Regions from separate parts of the Homo sapiens genome. Here regions 1, 3 and 4 are each linked to region 2. The links are contacts of gene promoters, found by promoter capture Hi-C in blood cells and fetal thymus (Javierre and others, 2016). All regions are on one chromosome and are shown on one strand. Each heading gives the region's core, a stretch centred on a gene start or on the middle of the fragment in contact. The rest is flanking DNA. Distances are from core to core; before and after follow the strand shown. Region 1 holds the start of SLIT3 (slit guidance ligand 3). Region 2 holds the start of SLIT3-AS2 (SLIT3 antisense RNA 2). Region 3 overlaps LOC105377714 (a long non-coding RNA gene). Region 4 has its middle 18 kb from the start of SLIT3.

The links. The method cuts DNA at HindIII sites, captures the fragments that hold promoters and counts their contacts. A CHiCAGO score of 5 or more calls a contact.
Region 1: the fragment with the promoter of SLIT3 here is called in contact with the fragment with the promoter of SLIT3-AS2 in region 2 in 7 of 17 cell types (M0 macrophages, M2 macrophages, M1 macrophages and 4 more); the score reaches 14.6 in M0 macrophages.
Region 3: a contact is called between a fragment that was not itself captured here and the fragment with the promoter of SLIT3-AS2 in region 2, in 3 of 17 cell types (M1 macrophages, endothelial precursors and M2 macrophages). The highest score is 7.4, in M1 macrophages.
Region 4: a fragment that was not itself captured here is called in contact with the fragment with the promoter of SLIT3-AS2 in region 2 in 2 of 17 cell types (M0 macrophages and M1 macrophages); the score reaches 5.7 in M0 macrophages.

Annotation. Positions count from the first base shown.
Region 1 is chr5:169,299,085-169,302,696 of GRCh38, forward strand. SLIT3 (slit guidance ligand 3) reads right to left here and starts at 2,055. Exons shown (of 36, transcript NM_003062.4): 1 at 1,429-2,055. The coding sequence starts at 1,625. The HindIII fragment of the contact is 7,800 bases long and covers 1-3,612 here.
Region 2 is chr5:168,705,645-168,709,258 of GRCh38, forward strand. SLIT3-AS2 (SLIT3 antisense RNA 2) reads left to right here and starts at 1,283. Exons shown (of 7, transcript NR_130737.1): 1 at 1,283-1,623; 2 at 2,793-3,003. SLIT3 (slit guidance ligand 3) reads right to left here. Exons shown (of 36, transcript NM_003062.4): 26 at 2,332-2,456. The HindIII fragment of the contact is 12,206 bases long and covers 1-1,517 here.
Region 3 is chr5:169,565,487-169,569,135 of GRCh38, forward strand. All of the region lies in intron 2 of LOC105377714 (a long non-coding RNA gene), which reads right to left. Among named protein-coding and RNA genes, the nearest start is that of SPDL1, 16 kb to the right of the region's middle. The HindIII fragment of the contact is 2,987 bases long and covers 1-2,960 here.
Region 4 is chr5:169,317,389-169,321,228 of GRCh38, forward strand. No RefSeq gene overlaps it. Among named protein-coding and RNA genes, the nearest start is that of SLIT3, 18 kb to the left of the region's middle. The HindIII fragment of the contact is 254 bases long and covers 2,068-2,321 here.

The DNA.
Region 1 (3,612 bases), core at 805-3,304, 590 kb after region 2:
AACTTGCTGTGTTTTCTTGGGCAAGTCATTTTACACTTCCAAGCCTGGTTTTCGACATGTGTTAATAAAGATTCGGCTCTCACCCTTTAGGATTCTGTGGTTCAACCCAACAAAACAATCACTGCACTTGTGGAAAAACAAAAAAGTACTGAGCCAAAGGAAAAAGAGAGCACCAGGAATAAGGAAGACAGTTCTGCTGAGTCTCCACCCAGAGATGCACAAAGAAGTGGAAGAGAAGAGGAGGTGGGGTGATAGGAGGTGACTAGCAGGAATAACACACTCTAGGACAATGCTTGTCATCACTACTCTCTTCCAGCCTGAAGTCAAGAAAGCAGAGTGGAAGATCCAGGCGCCTACCCCTAAGGCACATGAGGAAGGGGAGAAGAGGGAGAGCAAGACACGGAGGGAATCTACCACACTAGAGCAAACCCTCACCCACTTCTCGGCTGGGTTCCCAGTAAGGCTTCCCACCCACTCCAGCGTTTCTCCCCCACTCCCTTACCCCACCCCAACTGCGGACTAAGAGGAGCCCACCCCGGAGTCCAAGTTTTGAATCTGGTCCGAGGATCAAAATGATAAATGTTTCCAAAACGTTGACATATGAAAAGTAAATATTTGGTTGCACAATTGGGGCTAAAACTAGGGTCAATCCACCCCATTCTCCAAGCGCCTCTCCATTCGCTGCCAAGCCCAGGATCTGAGGCTGAGTGCGGTTTGTAAGATTATAACGCTCGGTCTCATTTGAAGGGCTGTCAGCATTTCCATTCTCCGGCCCCTTCGTTCGGGGAGGCATTTATAACCGAGCCATAAAAAATTCACCCGGGGCTGCAACTTGGCATCTCCCAGACTGCGCTCCAGGCAGAGCGGGTTTTGCGAGCACCCACTCTGAATCTGTCCAGTTCCTCAGAAGTTAAACCTTCACCCACACTCTCAACTTTCCTTGCAAGGGCAGCCAGAGAGCGGCTGGCCCATTCTGATCTCCAAGCAGGTCAACAGTCTCGGGCCCTCTCTCCCGCCTCCGCGCCTTGACGGCCCATCATCCTATAGCTTTCTCCTTCGCCCGCCCCCCTTTTTAACGAGCGCAGACCCCTGACCCTCACCCTAAGACCTTGAGGCTGCAGTGCTCTTGCCTCCCCTCGCCTCTCCTCAGCTACTCCTTGGAAGCTGTCAGCGGGCCCTGCGTCTGGAACCCTCACCCCTGGAGAGGCACTGCTCTTTGCCCATCGCTGGGGGTTTCGAGACCTCTCTTTCCAGATCTGACCAAGCCTACAGACCCCCAGCTCGGAGAGTGAGGGATCGTATCCAGGAAGGGATGAGAATAGAGACTGCATCCAGGGAGGCCGAGGGGAAAGGACGGATCTGGCGCCTGGGGCCCCCTCGGTGGGACCCAGGTGGGTGGCCCGCGTGGGGTGGGGCAGGGGTACTCACAGGCGCTCAGCGTTGCGGGGGATGCCCCGAGGAACCGCGCGGAGGCCCAGCCCGTGGCAGTCCACGCTGGCAGCGGAGCAGGTACACTTGGTGGGGCAGGCGACGGCTGGAGGCCCACTCAGGACGCTCGCCAGCGCCAAGGCCAGCGCCAGGCGGGCGCGCACGGCGGCGCCGACCCCTGCCCACCCGGGGGCCATGGTGTGCAGGGCCCCGCTCCTGGAGGAGGCTGCCTCTGCGGGGCAAGACGCGTGGAGCCCGAGGAGGCGCGCGGGGAGCGCGGGCGGCCTGGGGAGCGGGCGGCGGAGTTAGCGCGGAGGAGGGGCGAGCTCGGTGCTCAGGCGCACGGGGCGCGGGCGGAGCGGGGCGCTCCGGGCGGCGGCGGCGGCAGCAACAGCAGCTCCATCGGCGGGGCCGGCGCTGCCCCGCTGCGCATCGCTGGGAGTGCCCAGGTGCGGAGCGCCCCCTGGCCCCGCTGGCCCGCGGGCCGGGTTGGGGACCTGGGGCGAGCGCAATGGGGCGTGGCGCCCGGGGAGGTCCGGCTTGGGGCTGGGCTGGGGAGCGCGGCGGCTGCGGCTGGGGCACGGGGCGGCCGGGTGAGCTGGCCGGCGCTCGCTCTCTCCATTCAGTGAGCACGGCAGACACCGGAGACGCGGGGCCCACCCCTCCGGCCCCCCCCCGACCAAGAAACGCCAACTCCGCCTCCCATTGGCTGCGCCGCGCGTCATGTCGACTAAGTTGGGAACTTTGCTGGAGCGACCGAGAGCCTGGAGGGAGGAGGCAGTAGAGGAGGGAGAGAGAAGGAACCAGGGAAGGAAAGGGGCTCGGCCAGCAGGGCCCCTGGAAAGAAACACTGAAACTCATTCACTGTTAAGATCCAAGGACGGATAAGGCTCCTGACACTTTTTTTTTTTTAATTTTTGCACTGAGCTGAGCACTCTACTCATATTCTTTACTTAAGTCCACGATCTTCCAAGGGGTCGTCTGAAAACAGCTCAGAGAAGTGAAGCGACTTGCTGGAGGTCGCACAGCTGCTAGGGACGCCAAACCATGGCAGTGTCGCCCACGAAGCCGCTTCCCTACCGCACCTAGTACTCATGGCAGAGATCCACAATTTTGCCTGAAGAGCCTTGGTTGACACCAATGTACTCCACAGCTACACACACACACACACCGTGGTCCATGTTGTTGAGGTCACTGCTGGCAAACCTTACCCGGAAACTTGCCCTGCTTTGCCCAGACCCAGCGCTTGGTGGACTGGTAAAAGTAGTGATGGCAGCGACTTGGACCCCTGGATTGACAATGCCTTGTTCCATCCTCGGGTTTCTGCTTCCTGACTGGGTGACTCTGGGCCAATCGTGTCATCTCTGAGCCTTCGTTTTCTCAAATCCGGGGCCACAGTCCTACCTGGCCTCACCTCCCTGGGTTGTTTGGAGCATCACAGAAGAGAACGTGTTTTTGCAAAAGTCATTCGCAGACGAGGCATCCCTTCTGTCCCCAGCGCCTTCTTTCTTCCAGCGCCCGCTTTAAATTGGCTAGGTCTGAGCTTTTCCAGATGCCAGTGGGGAGGGGCGTGTGCGTTAGAGGCTCCATAAATACTTGTAGGAATGATTTTGTTTGTTTGTTTGAAAGGAAAGGGCAGGAACTGGAGGAAGTATTGCCCAGATTTCCTTGAGGTCCCCTCACACTGAGAAGGCCTGAATGAGCCCTGCATATATATACACACACACTGGTGCCTACGTATTCACAGCCACGCACACACTCTCACATACTCAGGCTCACACACACCCATTTATACACCGGCAATCACACACACGTGTACATGCATGCTCGCACACACACTCACATAGTGACAACTATACTCCTGAGAGCGCTTCTCTTTTCTTTCATAAGAATACTATTCTGATTTCTTCTACCTCATTTTCCTTCAAGGAAACTTTCAACTACTTGACCACATCCTGTGAATATATAGTAGAGTTGTAGATTTTATTGTATTATACTTAGCAGATTTTCAAAGTCTTAGCTTTGGGCACCCACTTGCGCGCGCGTACACACAAACACACACATACGCACACTCACTCAAACACACACACTCGAGTCCCTTCATCATTCATAAACACATTAGGTGCAATTTACTGCTGTTATTCTTGGGAACGGCTTTCTGTACAGATGCTGTTGTTATCGCCC
Region 2 (3,614 bases), core at 33-2,532:
TAAAATTGACATGATGTTCAGAATCTTGAGAACAAAGTTCAAACAAGTGGCCTTATCCTGCAGTAGCTCTGAAGATACTCTCTTTGCTCTGACACTGACGGTCAGGTCATGCTTCATAGTACAGTCAAGTGTAGCTGGAAGAAGCCTGGACTTCAAACCCAGCTCTACTACTTTCAGACTCAGGCCAGTTTTAAAGAGAAGGAAGCAAGAATCAGAATGTGAAACAGTTTACCTTATCTTTAGAATGGGGATGATACTACCCATCTCATAAGCTGATTATAAAAATCAGAGAAGAAAATAAATGCATAAGCTCCAGATGAGTGCCTGGCCTTTATTGATGATTCAAAAGAGAACTATACTATGTATGGAATTGAGAATGTTACAAATGCAGTCACAGTTCTAGGAGAATGACTGAAGTTTCTTGGCAGTTCACAGTGCCATAGACTGATAATCCTGGATCAAACTAGCAACATACCACCTGTTACTGATGGCCTATTCCACACCCAGGTATGAGGGACCACCATGCAAGGGTAAAGGTGAAAGGCAGCAGTATGCCAGCTTATTGAGTGCTCACTGAATGCCAGGTATCATCCTAGTGTATTGCGTACATTACTGTACATTTGATTCTTACGGCAAACCTATGAGACAGGTCCTAGTTTGCAGCTGGGAAGACAGATGAAATTACTAGCAATGGCTACACAGCTAGTAAATGACAAAGCTGGAATCCACACCTGCTTCTCTGTGTAATTGCACAGTCTGAATTTTCTCTGCTGAATCCATACAAGGGAGTTTGAGAGGATCCACACATCCTGAGTATGTCTGCTGTTAATCTCTATTCTCCCCTCCTATTATTTTTTTTGTGTGTGTGGGTGCCCTGTGACTGAATTTATAACATTCTCAATTCCATACATAGTATAGTTCTCTTTTGAATCATCAGTAAAGGCCAGGCACTCATCTGGACCTTATGCATTTAGTCTCTTCTCTGATTTTTATAATCAGCTTATGAAATGACGGTGTATGGGTCTGGGACTCAGTGGTAAGTTTAAGACTTTGGAGGTGGCTGGCTTCAAAGGGAATCCTTTGGCTCTCTTGTCCCAGGCCCATAGGTGGCACTCTGACACCATCTGCTAGAAGCACAGCCATCGTCTAGAAATACATCAGGTAGTCCCATTCCCCAGAATGAGGCTGCCTCTAAGCCTGTCACTACGCACACACAATCCCACTGGGGGCAGAGACCTGGGGATGCCAGCTCACTCTCACTCCACCTGCATCAGATGTGTGCATTAGACAGGCTGTGGGGCTGTCCTGAAACTCTGCGCTTGCCCAGTGCCTTTGGATGGGTGCCCTGGGAAGGCTGGAAGCTGGGCGGGCCCTGCAGAAGAGGATGGAGCCACAGCTTTGCTGATTCCAGTGAAGCCCAAGGAAGGGCTCAGCTATCCAGGAAACCCTCCAGGGGAAAAGGATTGGGTTCTGGAATCACAAAGCCCAGGGTCTTAATCACAGCTCTACTGCTTACAAGCTTCGGACATTGAGTTGAACTCTTGACAGTCTGAGGCCCAGTCTCCATATCCGTAAAAAGGGAATAATGAGGCCTTCTTAGGTTTGCTGGGGGTGTTTGAACAGGTGAGTAAAATGCCAAGCACAGTACTTGGCACAGTCTGTACTCGGTAGGTGCTGGTGAGAGGCACATGGTCGATATCCACAGGGGTCAGCAGAGGGGCATGACACCGTGCTCTGGGTGAAAGAAGGAAGGACTGTCTTGGAGGTAGTCTGGGAGGACAGAGGGGAGAACTGGGATCTCATCCTCTTGCTGGCTGATCTTAGCCGATCAACCTTTTGGGTGAGTTTGCAGCCCCTAGGCCTTTCAATCCCCAATCCCTATATTTACATCAAGCTGGAACCAGCACTTTCAAGGCTGGTTGCTCTGAGGGTGGGGTTTGGCAGGGGCATGGTGGGGTGGAGGTTCTGGAAATCCCTTTAGAAGGGAAATTGGGAGAGTGGGCTCAAGGGATGCCTCTACTTGGAAACACTTTTTCTCTGAGACTTAATTTCTCCATGTTTCACAAAGAAAATACAAATGTTACATTTCCTCTTTCTCTCTGGACATCCTTGTCAAGACCATATGGGGGCCTCTCTGACTGGCAGCTCCCGCTAGTTCAGAGAACAGTGTTACTGGCAAATGCTGCTTTGGAGTGGTGACCTGTGCGATGGACTCATCCAGGCTGTCCCTTGGAGAAGGGAGGGTACGCAGGGCATGGTGCCCCTCTCTAGGGCCAGGGCTGAAGGAGGAGCCTGAGGCATGAACACGGGGGGGCAGGGCCTCCAGCATACCTTGTAGCTGTAGGGGCAGGCACAGCGGTACAGCTCCACAGGGTCCTGGGTGCATGTCCCGTTATTCTTGCACGGGCTGGAGAGGCAGGCATTGCATTTGGCCACAATGTTGATGTCCACTGGCCCTGGGCAGCAAAACCAGAGTACTGATGGCAGGTCCTGAGTGCGCTCACTGCCATACCTCCCTTCCCCTCTGCTCTGGGCCCTCCCTCAGCCAGCGCCAGCCCCTTCCCAACTCCATGCCCAGATGGCAGCTGGCTCTCCTCAGCCAGCACATCCAGTCCAGCTAGAGTCCCATTAATTCAGCCACTGTCCAGTGAGGAAAAATCACAGTGGGACATCATTCAGAAACACTTCTGCAGTCAAATCAATTACTGTAATTAGCCTGATCCGATTTTGGTGCTAATCTGCAAACAATGCACCATAATTAGAAACCCCCTGTGTATCTTTTCATATTCCAGGAAGCTCTGGGCCCAGGCTCCATTCGGACCTCCCATTTTTCTACCCACAAACACCCCTCCCCATGGAATAGTCTGTGCCAGGCTAAGCAGGGCACAGTGCTTGGGCCAAAGGCACACAGAGGAAGTCCCCCCTGGAAAACCTTGGAAGAAAGAAATGGATGGCCCCAGAGGACACAGCGATGATGCTGACAATGGACAGAAAACTGCTCAGGTACATGTTACGTCTGTGACCGTTTCAGCCGTGTGCTTGCTTTAGCTGCGAGCACTGGAGGGAGGTCAGGGTCCTTCCCAGAGCTTTGCAAAGGGGGCTGTGTCCTGCTGCTGCAGCCAGCTTTGACAATGAGCCCTGGATAAACAGGCCATATTTAGTGTCAGGACTATAAATGACCTTGGGGTTAACAGTTATCAACTTGGAGATGGGCTGAGATGAACTTCAGTGAGTGACTGTTTGTGGATGAGTAAAAAGAATGGCCTGATTGAGAGCTGGTACCAGGGGCTCAACCCGACTTCACATTAGAAGAGGAAGACTATCTGTCTTGGTTTGCTTGGGGCTGAGGGGGTTTGCAGGACACAGAGCTTTCAGTGCTAAAACCAAGAATGGCCCAGACAAAACCCAGATGACTTAGCTGCCTTACACTACCAGCTACAGTGTTGTTTTCTGTTTGTTTTTTTTTTTTTTTGAGATGGAGTCTCACTCTGTTGCCCAGGCTGGAGTGTGGTGGTGCAATTTCGGCTCACAGCAACCTCCACCTCCTGGATTCAAGCAGTTCTGCCTCAGCCTCCCAAGTAGCTGGGATTACAAGCATGCGCCACCACACCTGG
Region 3 (3,649 bases), core at 217-2,716, 860 kb after region 2:
CCTGTTTTTGGGTAAAGGAAGGTCTATTTTCCCATTCTAGACATTAATTTTTGCCAAACCAGCAGTGAGAATTCTCATTACTCTTTTAATTCACGTTTCTTTAATATGTAAAAAGGTTTAAAATTTTCTAAGTGTTTTTTAATCATTCATATATACATTGAGATGGAGTTTGGTTCTTGTGGCCCAGGCTGGAGTGCAACGGTGTGGTCTCGGCTCACTGCAACTTCCGCCTCCCGGATTCAAGTGATTCTCCTGCCTCAGCCTCCTGAGTAGCTGGGATTACAGGCATGCACCACCACGCCTGGCTAATTTTTTTGTATTTTTAGTAGAGACGGGGTTTCACCATGTTGGCCAGGCTGGTCTCGAACTCCTGACCTCAGGTGATCCACCCGCCTCAACTTCCCAAAGTGCTGGGATTACACACGTGAGCCACTGCACCCAGCCAATCATTCATATTTTTAATGAATCATTTGATTGTGTCCTTAGAGGCTTAATGGATTTTTTGTTGTAGGGGTCAGGTGACTTATATGCCCTTTAAATTAAAGAGTCCAACAGCAAAAGGGAGTCTGACAATATTCCAAACATTTCTTTTTGCATTCTCAATGACTGCTACCAAATTTTTCTCAGTTTGAAAGAAATAGCTGGTTAAGAGGAATTTTCAGCCTTTGTGAGATGTGCATCTGTTTAGAAAAGTCTATGAAAAGGGAATAGTAAAAAGATGTGGGGAAAAAAAACAGAAGAAAGCTATTTTAAATGAGAATGAGTTACTGAGTTATCTATTTGATCATTTTTTATTTTGATTATATTCGACTTATTATTTTGACATGCCCTGAATTGTCAAGGAGAAAAAATGAGACTACTGTTTTGCTAAGTATTCCTGGTATGCATCTTTGTGGGGGTATGAATCACATAAGTCAACTTTTCAACTTTCCTAGGACCACTTGCCTCAGCATCACTCAAAGAGCTTAAATATCCAATTCTGGAATTTAATCCTCCAGACACTAAAGATGAGTCTTTAAAGATATATCCCAGATAGCTCCATCTTGTAAAGGCCCTTTCTAGGAGATTCTTACATGCACAAATTTTGAAAAAAAAACTTTGGAAAATACCCATTTAGTACCTTCAGTTCATTCGATTGTTCATCCATTTGTTCAAAGAGTAATTAAAATAATTACTGAGCACCTACAATGTGCCAGCCACTGTTCTGGAGATGGAACAGTGAATTAAGCCCATGGTCTAATAGGGCTTACATTATAATGAAGGAAGTCAAACAACAACAAAAACATGCATTGTTATGCAAGGTGGTAAGTGCTATTACAAAGACTAAAGCAAAGTAAGAGGAAAGACAGTGATGTGGGGTGGGTACTACTGTAGGTTTATTAATAATCTATGACTTTCATTTGTCTCTTTTTTTGAACAATAAAGTTACTTTAATATCAATCTTAGAGGCATTCCAACTTCTCAGTTCACCTGAGTTTGGGGCTGCCTCTCTTGTCCTCAACATATTCTTGCTTCCTTCCACCTTCACCTATTCCTGGAGACCTCTGGCCCTATGGGGTATTAGCAAGGTATAGACTCAGTGGCCAAAGGGCTAGCCTTCTCCATCAATAGGACCATGAACAAACTAATGTGTGGTAAATAAAGAGCCTAGACAGCAATCAAGCAGTGATAAAATATGAACCAAGGCAATATTTACAGCCTACCTATGCCAATAAATTATCAACTGAAATCTTCAAGAAGCACACAGGCCAAGACATGGTGGAAGGATCCAGCACATTGGACAGCGCCAGTAGCATGGTAAGGTACAGCTGCGGAGGTCCTGCTGGCAGCTGCCAACTAACTTCCTGAGCATTATATTGCTCAATGCTTGGGTTAAATGAAGGTCAAGGGGTGGGAGGTGGAAGAATGAACCCAGAGCTTCAAAAGACCCTGAACCAAATCTGGTTAAACCAAGCACTGCTCAAGGAGGTTTTAGACCCTAAACCTAAAATGCAGCCAGAAACCCATACCAACAGTTACTCCTCTTTCAGAAGTAGCTGCAACAGCAACAGCAATGGAAATAAATATCTGGCAAACAGATTATTTGGCAGTTAGAGTTGAGTATGCAATTTTGGGTATACAAGTAGAGGTCTGCTCAAGTAAGACCAGAGTTTATTCTCCTCCTTCTCCTTCCCTTTCCTCCCCTCCTCCTCCCACTCCCTCTCCTCCTCCTCTTCCTCTTCTACTTCCTTGTTTCTTCTTCTTCCCTTCTTCTTCTCCTCCTCCTACTTCTTCCTTCTTTCTTCTTCTTTCCTCTTTCTTCTTCTCCTCCTCCTACTTCCTCTTCCTTCTCCTTCTTCCTCTTCATCTTCTTCTGCTTTCTTCATCCTCCTCCCTCTCTTCTTCTCCTTTTTTTTTTAAGAGACGGTCTTGCTCTGTGGCCCAGGCTGGAGTACATGGAGTGCAGTGCCACAATCATAGCTCACTGCAGCCTTGAACTCCTGGACCCAAGCAATCCTCCTGCCTCAGCCTCCTAAGTAGCCGGGACTACAGGCATGCACCACCACACCCAGCCAATTAAAAAATTTTCTTTTAAGGAAAGGGGTCTTGCTATGTTGCCCAGGCTGGTCTTGAACCCCTGGGCTCAAGTGATCCTCCCACCTAAGCCTCCCAAGTAGCTGGGATTATAGGCTTGAGCCACAGCACCCAGTAGAGTTTCTTAACTGGTATCCATGCACTGGCTAGTCCATAAACCCTATGATATAAGCAAGCCTCTCTCTCTCTCTCTCTCTCTCTCTCTCTCTCTCTCACACACACACACACACACACACACAATCTATAGGTAGATAGAGATCTGTGTGTGCGTGTGTGTGTGTGTGTGTGTGTGTGTAGCAAGGGGGCTGTGTACATGTACATTATTTTTTCTGGGAAGAATTCTTATAGATTTCATCAGATTCTCAAAGGAGACTGTAACCCAGTAAAGCTTAGGAACTATCATCTTAGACCAAGGATCAGTATCCTTTAGAACTTGAGCTGGAATATATAATTCAGCCACAGAAGGCTCTTGGTTAGAATGAATGTCATGGAATACTACTTCCACACAAACCCCAGCTACTGACACTCACCCTCAGGGTTATAAAATGTCTCATGCCTTGTGAGTTCAGTCCTTTGGACAGGAAGCTAAAAGTTTCATGTTCGTTATATATAAAGATCCAGGTTAGGGATTTTAAAAAACACATTACTATGTTAGCTAGCTGTCACTGCACGGTAAACCACTCAAAATTTAGTGGTGTTATTTACTTATGAATTGGTAATGTCAGCAACATGGATTAGGTTCAGCTAGACGATTCTTTTGCCTAGGAATTACAAGGCATGGGTTTAGAATCCCACATTATTTTTGCCACATTCATTAGTCAAGGTGCATTACAAGGCCAACCCAGATTCAAAGTTGTTGAGAAACAGACTACTTCCTCATGGGATGAGCTGCAAAGTCACACTGCAAAGGGGCTGCTCATGGAAGAATCACTGCGGTCATCTTGAAAACAATCTTCCACAGCTACATGCTGAAGAATTCATAGTTAAAATAATGTTATCTGTGATTTGCTTGAAAACATCCCAGAAACAAAAACTGGTGGGAAAATAATTGAAAGAAAAATGGCAAAAAGTGATC
Region 4 (3,840 bases), core at 945-3,444, 610 kb after region 2:
AGGGATGAGATATTAATGGGTACATTGTTCAAGTAATGGTTATACTATAAGCCCAGACTTCACCACTATACAATATCTCCATGTAACAAAACGGCTCTTGTGCTCATTAAAATTATCCAAATAAAACTTTTTGAAAAGATTCTACTAATTGAGTTTAGTAAAGTTGTCGTATATAAGAAGATACGGTCAATGTATGAAAATAAATTGCCGTCTTAGATATTGGGAGTGAATAACTGGAAATCGAAATTACAAAACAGTATCATTTACAATAGCATTAAAGGACATGAAATATTTAGGGGAAAACTAAATATGTGCAAGATTTGATGCTGAATATGACAAAATTTTGATGAAACTAAAATGAGCTTATAAAATGATTGATGTAACTGTGCTCATGGATTGGAAGACTCTATGTTGTTAAGATGTCAGTTTTCTCAAATTGCTCTATATGTTCAATGCCATTCCAATCAATATCCCAACATAATATTTCTTTTTGGAGATTGACAGAGTATTCTAAAATTTATATAGAAGAACAAAAGACCCAAAAGAACTAAAATAGGTAATTGTGAATAAGAAGAACAGAGTTAGAGGATTCACATTACCTGGTTTTAAGACTTATCATAAAGCTATAGTAATCAAGAGAGTGTGGTATTGGGTAAAAGAGAGACACAGAGATTGAGAGAATAAAGCCAATATAACAGCAGCCTACAGATTGGGAAAAGTATTTACAAACTATGTATCTGGTAATGGGTTAATATTTAAAATTTATAAAGAACATATACAACTCAATAGTAGAAAAACAAATAATCCAATTAAAAATAGGCAAAGGACCTGAACAGACATTTTTCCAGAGAAGACATAAAAATGGTTAACATGGATATAAAAAAAGTGATCAATATTATTAATCTTCAAGAAAATGCAAATGAAAACCCTGTAAGGTACCACCTGACACCCATTAGGATGGCTATTATCAAAAAGTCAAATGATAACAAATACTGGCAAGAAAATGTGGAGAAAAGGGAACCCTTGTACACTTTTGGTGGGACTGTTGAGTGGTACAGCTATTATGGAAAACAGTAAAGAGACTTCTACAGAAATTAAAAATATAACCACCACATAACCTAGTAATTCCTCTTCTGGGCATATCCCCAAAGCAAATGAAATCACCATCTCATAAAGATACCTGCACTCCCATGTTCATTGCGCATTATTCAAACAGTCAAAATGTGGAAACAACCCAAGTGTTCATCAATGAATGGATTAAAAAAATGTGGTATATATAGACACCATGGAATATTACTCAGCCTTAGATAAGGAGATCTTGCCATTTGCCACAACAAGGATGAATCTGAAAGATATAACGCTAAGTGAAATAAGCCAGACACAGAAAGAAAAATCCTGCATGATCTCACTCATATGTGGAATCTGAAAAATAAAAGAAAAGAGTCAAATATACAGAGATAAGACAGTTGTTACTAGGGGCAGGGTTGGAGGGAGGAAGCAGGAAGAAGTAGGTCAGAGAATGCAAAGTAGTAGATATGTAAGTTGAACAAGTCTAGAGATTTATATCCAACATGAAAACTATAGGTAATAAAATAAAATTGTGCTATATGTGGGATTCCTGCCAAATGAGTAGATTTTAACTGTATTGCCCCAAAAATAACAACAAAAAAGGGTAACTATGTGAGATGATGAATTATTAATTTGCTTCACTAGAGTAACCATTTTACTATCTGTATGCATCCCATAACATCACGTTATACACCTAAAATATATATGATAAATTTCATTTTTAAAAATGATAAAAAATTTTAAAAAGTAAAAGAATAGAATCAAGAGTTCAGAAATAAACACATATATATATGTTCCATTCCAACCAAAATGCCAATGTAGTTTAAGGAATACAAATCTTTTCGGCAGTGGATGCTGGAACAATTAGCTATCTATAGGCTGAAGAACTAACCTTGGCCCTTTTTTTCTGCACCATATGCAAACATTCACTTGAAATGGTATATATATATGTGCTAAATGTATAAAAACTTCTAGAAGAAGACACAGAAAATCTTTTCAAGCTTGAGTTAGGCAAAGATTTTAAAAATAAGATACAGAAAGCACAAATCAAAGCAGAAGAAAATAATAAACTGGAGTTAATCAAAATTTAAAACATCTGTTCTTTGAAAGATATTACAAAAATAAGAAGACAAATTACAGTCCAAGAGAAAATATTTGCAAAACATTTATCTGACAAGGGGTTTGTGTCCATAACATATAAAGAACTCTCAAAAATCAGTAAGACAAGCAACTCAATAAAAAGAATGGGTAAAAGCTTGAATAGACACTTCATCAAAGAAGAAATATAGATGGCAAATAAACACATAAAAAGAAATTAAACATCATTAATCATCAGGGAAATGCAAATTAAAACTACAATGAGATACCACCACATACCCTTTAGAATGGCTAAAATTTTAAAAGTGCTGTTGAAGATGTAGAGCAACTGGAAACTTCCTACACATTACTGATGGGAATGCAAAGTGATAACATCTTTGGCAGTTTCTAGTAAAGTTATGCATTCAGCTACTATATGACCCAGAAACCCCACTCCTAATATTTTAACCATGAAAAATCAAAACCGTATGTCCACAGAAGACCTGAATAGAGCTGCTTATGGAAGTTTTATTTATAATAATTAAATGATAGAAAAACTCAGGCTGGGCGCGGTGGCTCACACCTGTAATCCCAGCACTTTGGGAGGCCGAGGCAGGCGGATCACGAGGTCAGGAGTTCAAGACCAGGACCAGCCTGGCTAACATGGAGAATCCCCGTCTCTACTAAAAATACACAAATTAGCTGGGCATGGTGGCAGGTGCCTGTAAACCCAGCTACTCAGGAGGCTGAGGCAGGAGAATCTTTTGAAAATGGGAGGCAGAAATTGCATGAGCCAAGATCATGCCATTGCACTCCAGCCTAGGCGACAGGGAGAGATTCCTTCTCAAAAAAAAAAGAAACAACTCAAATGGTCATCAGTTGGTGAGTGGACAGCCAATTTGTGGTACATGAATTTAATGGAACATAACTTAGCAGTAAACATAAAGCATTGATACAGGCAACAACATAGATGAATCTGAAAAACATTCTGTTAGTGAAAGAAGGCACAAAAGTTACAAATTCTCTTACATTTATATTGCATTCTGAAAAGGCAAAAAGCAGACCCAAAACTAGATTTTTGCTTGCTAGAGAGTGGTGGAGAGGAGAGATAATAGGCTATAAAAAGACATAAGGACATTTGCGTGATGGAAATGTTCTATAGCTTAGTTATGATTTTAATTACACAACTGTATACACTTTTCAAAACTCATCACAGTATACTCTTAAAAAGGACACATTTTCCCATCTGTAAATATTTCAATCAACCTTACAAAAGCAAACAAAACTCACCTAAACCTCAGTTTTCTCATTTTAAAAATTGTAGCCACTATTATTATTTTCTTAAAAATGATCCTTTTCCATGGAAAGATTGTCTTGGTCAGGATTCCTAAGTCATTGCTTTGATTATCACTTGCCATTTTGTGTCACTGATAAATAAAGATAAAACGCATTTATGAAAAACATCTATTACTATGCTCCATACACACTGGCAACTTGCATAACACTTAAATGAATATGACATTTAATAAAAGAAACAGAAAAGAGTCAATAATCTTTTCAGAAAGAAGCAGACACCAGACTCCAGACAATGGTGGAACAATTTGCTTTTAAATTCATGCCCTGCCCTCTTTTCTTACTTTGCAATGGAATGTTTGTTGACTGGGTTGAAGAAGAAGTCTCAAAAATGTTACTGTT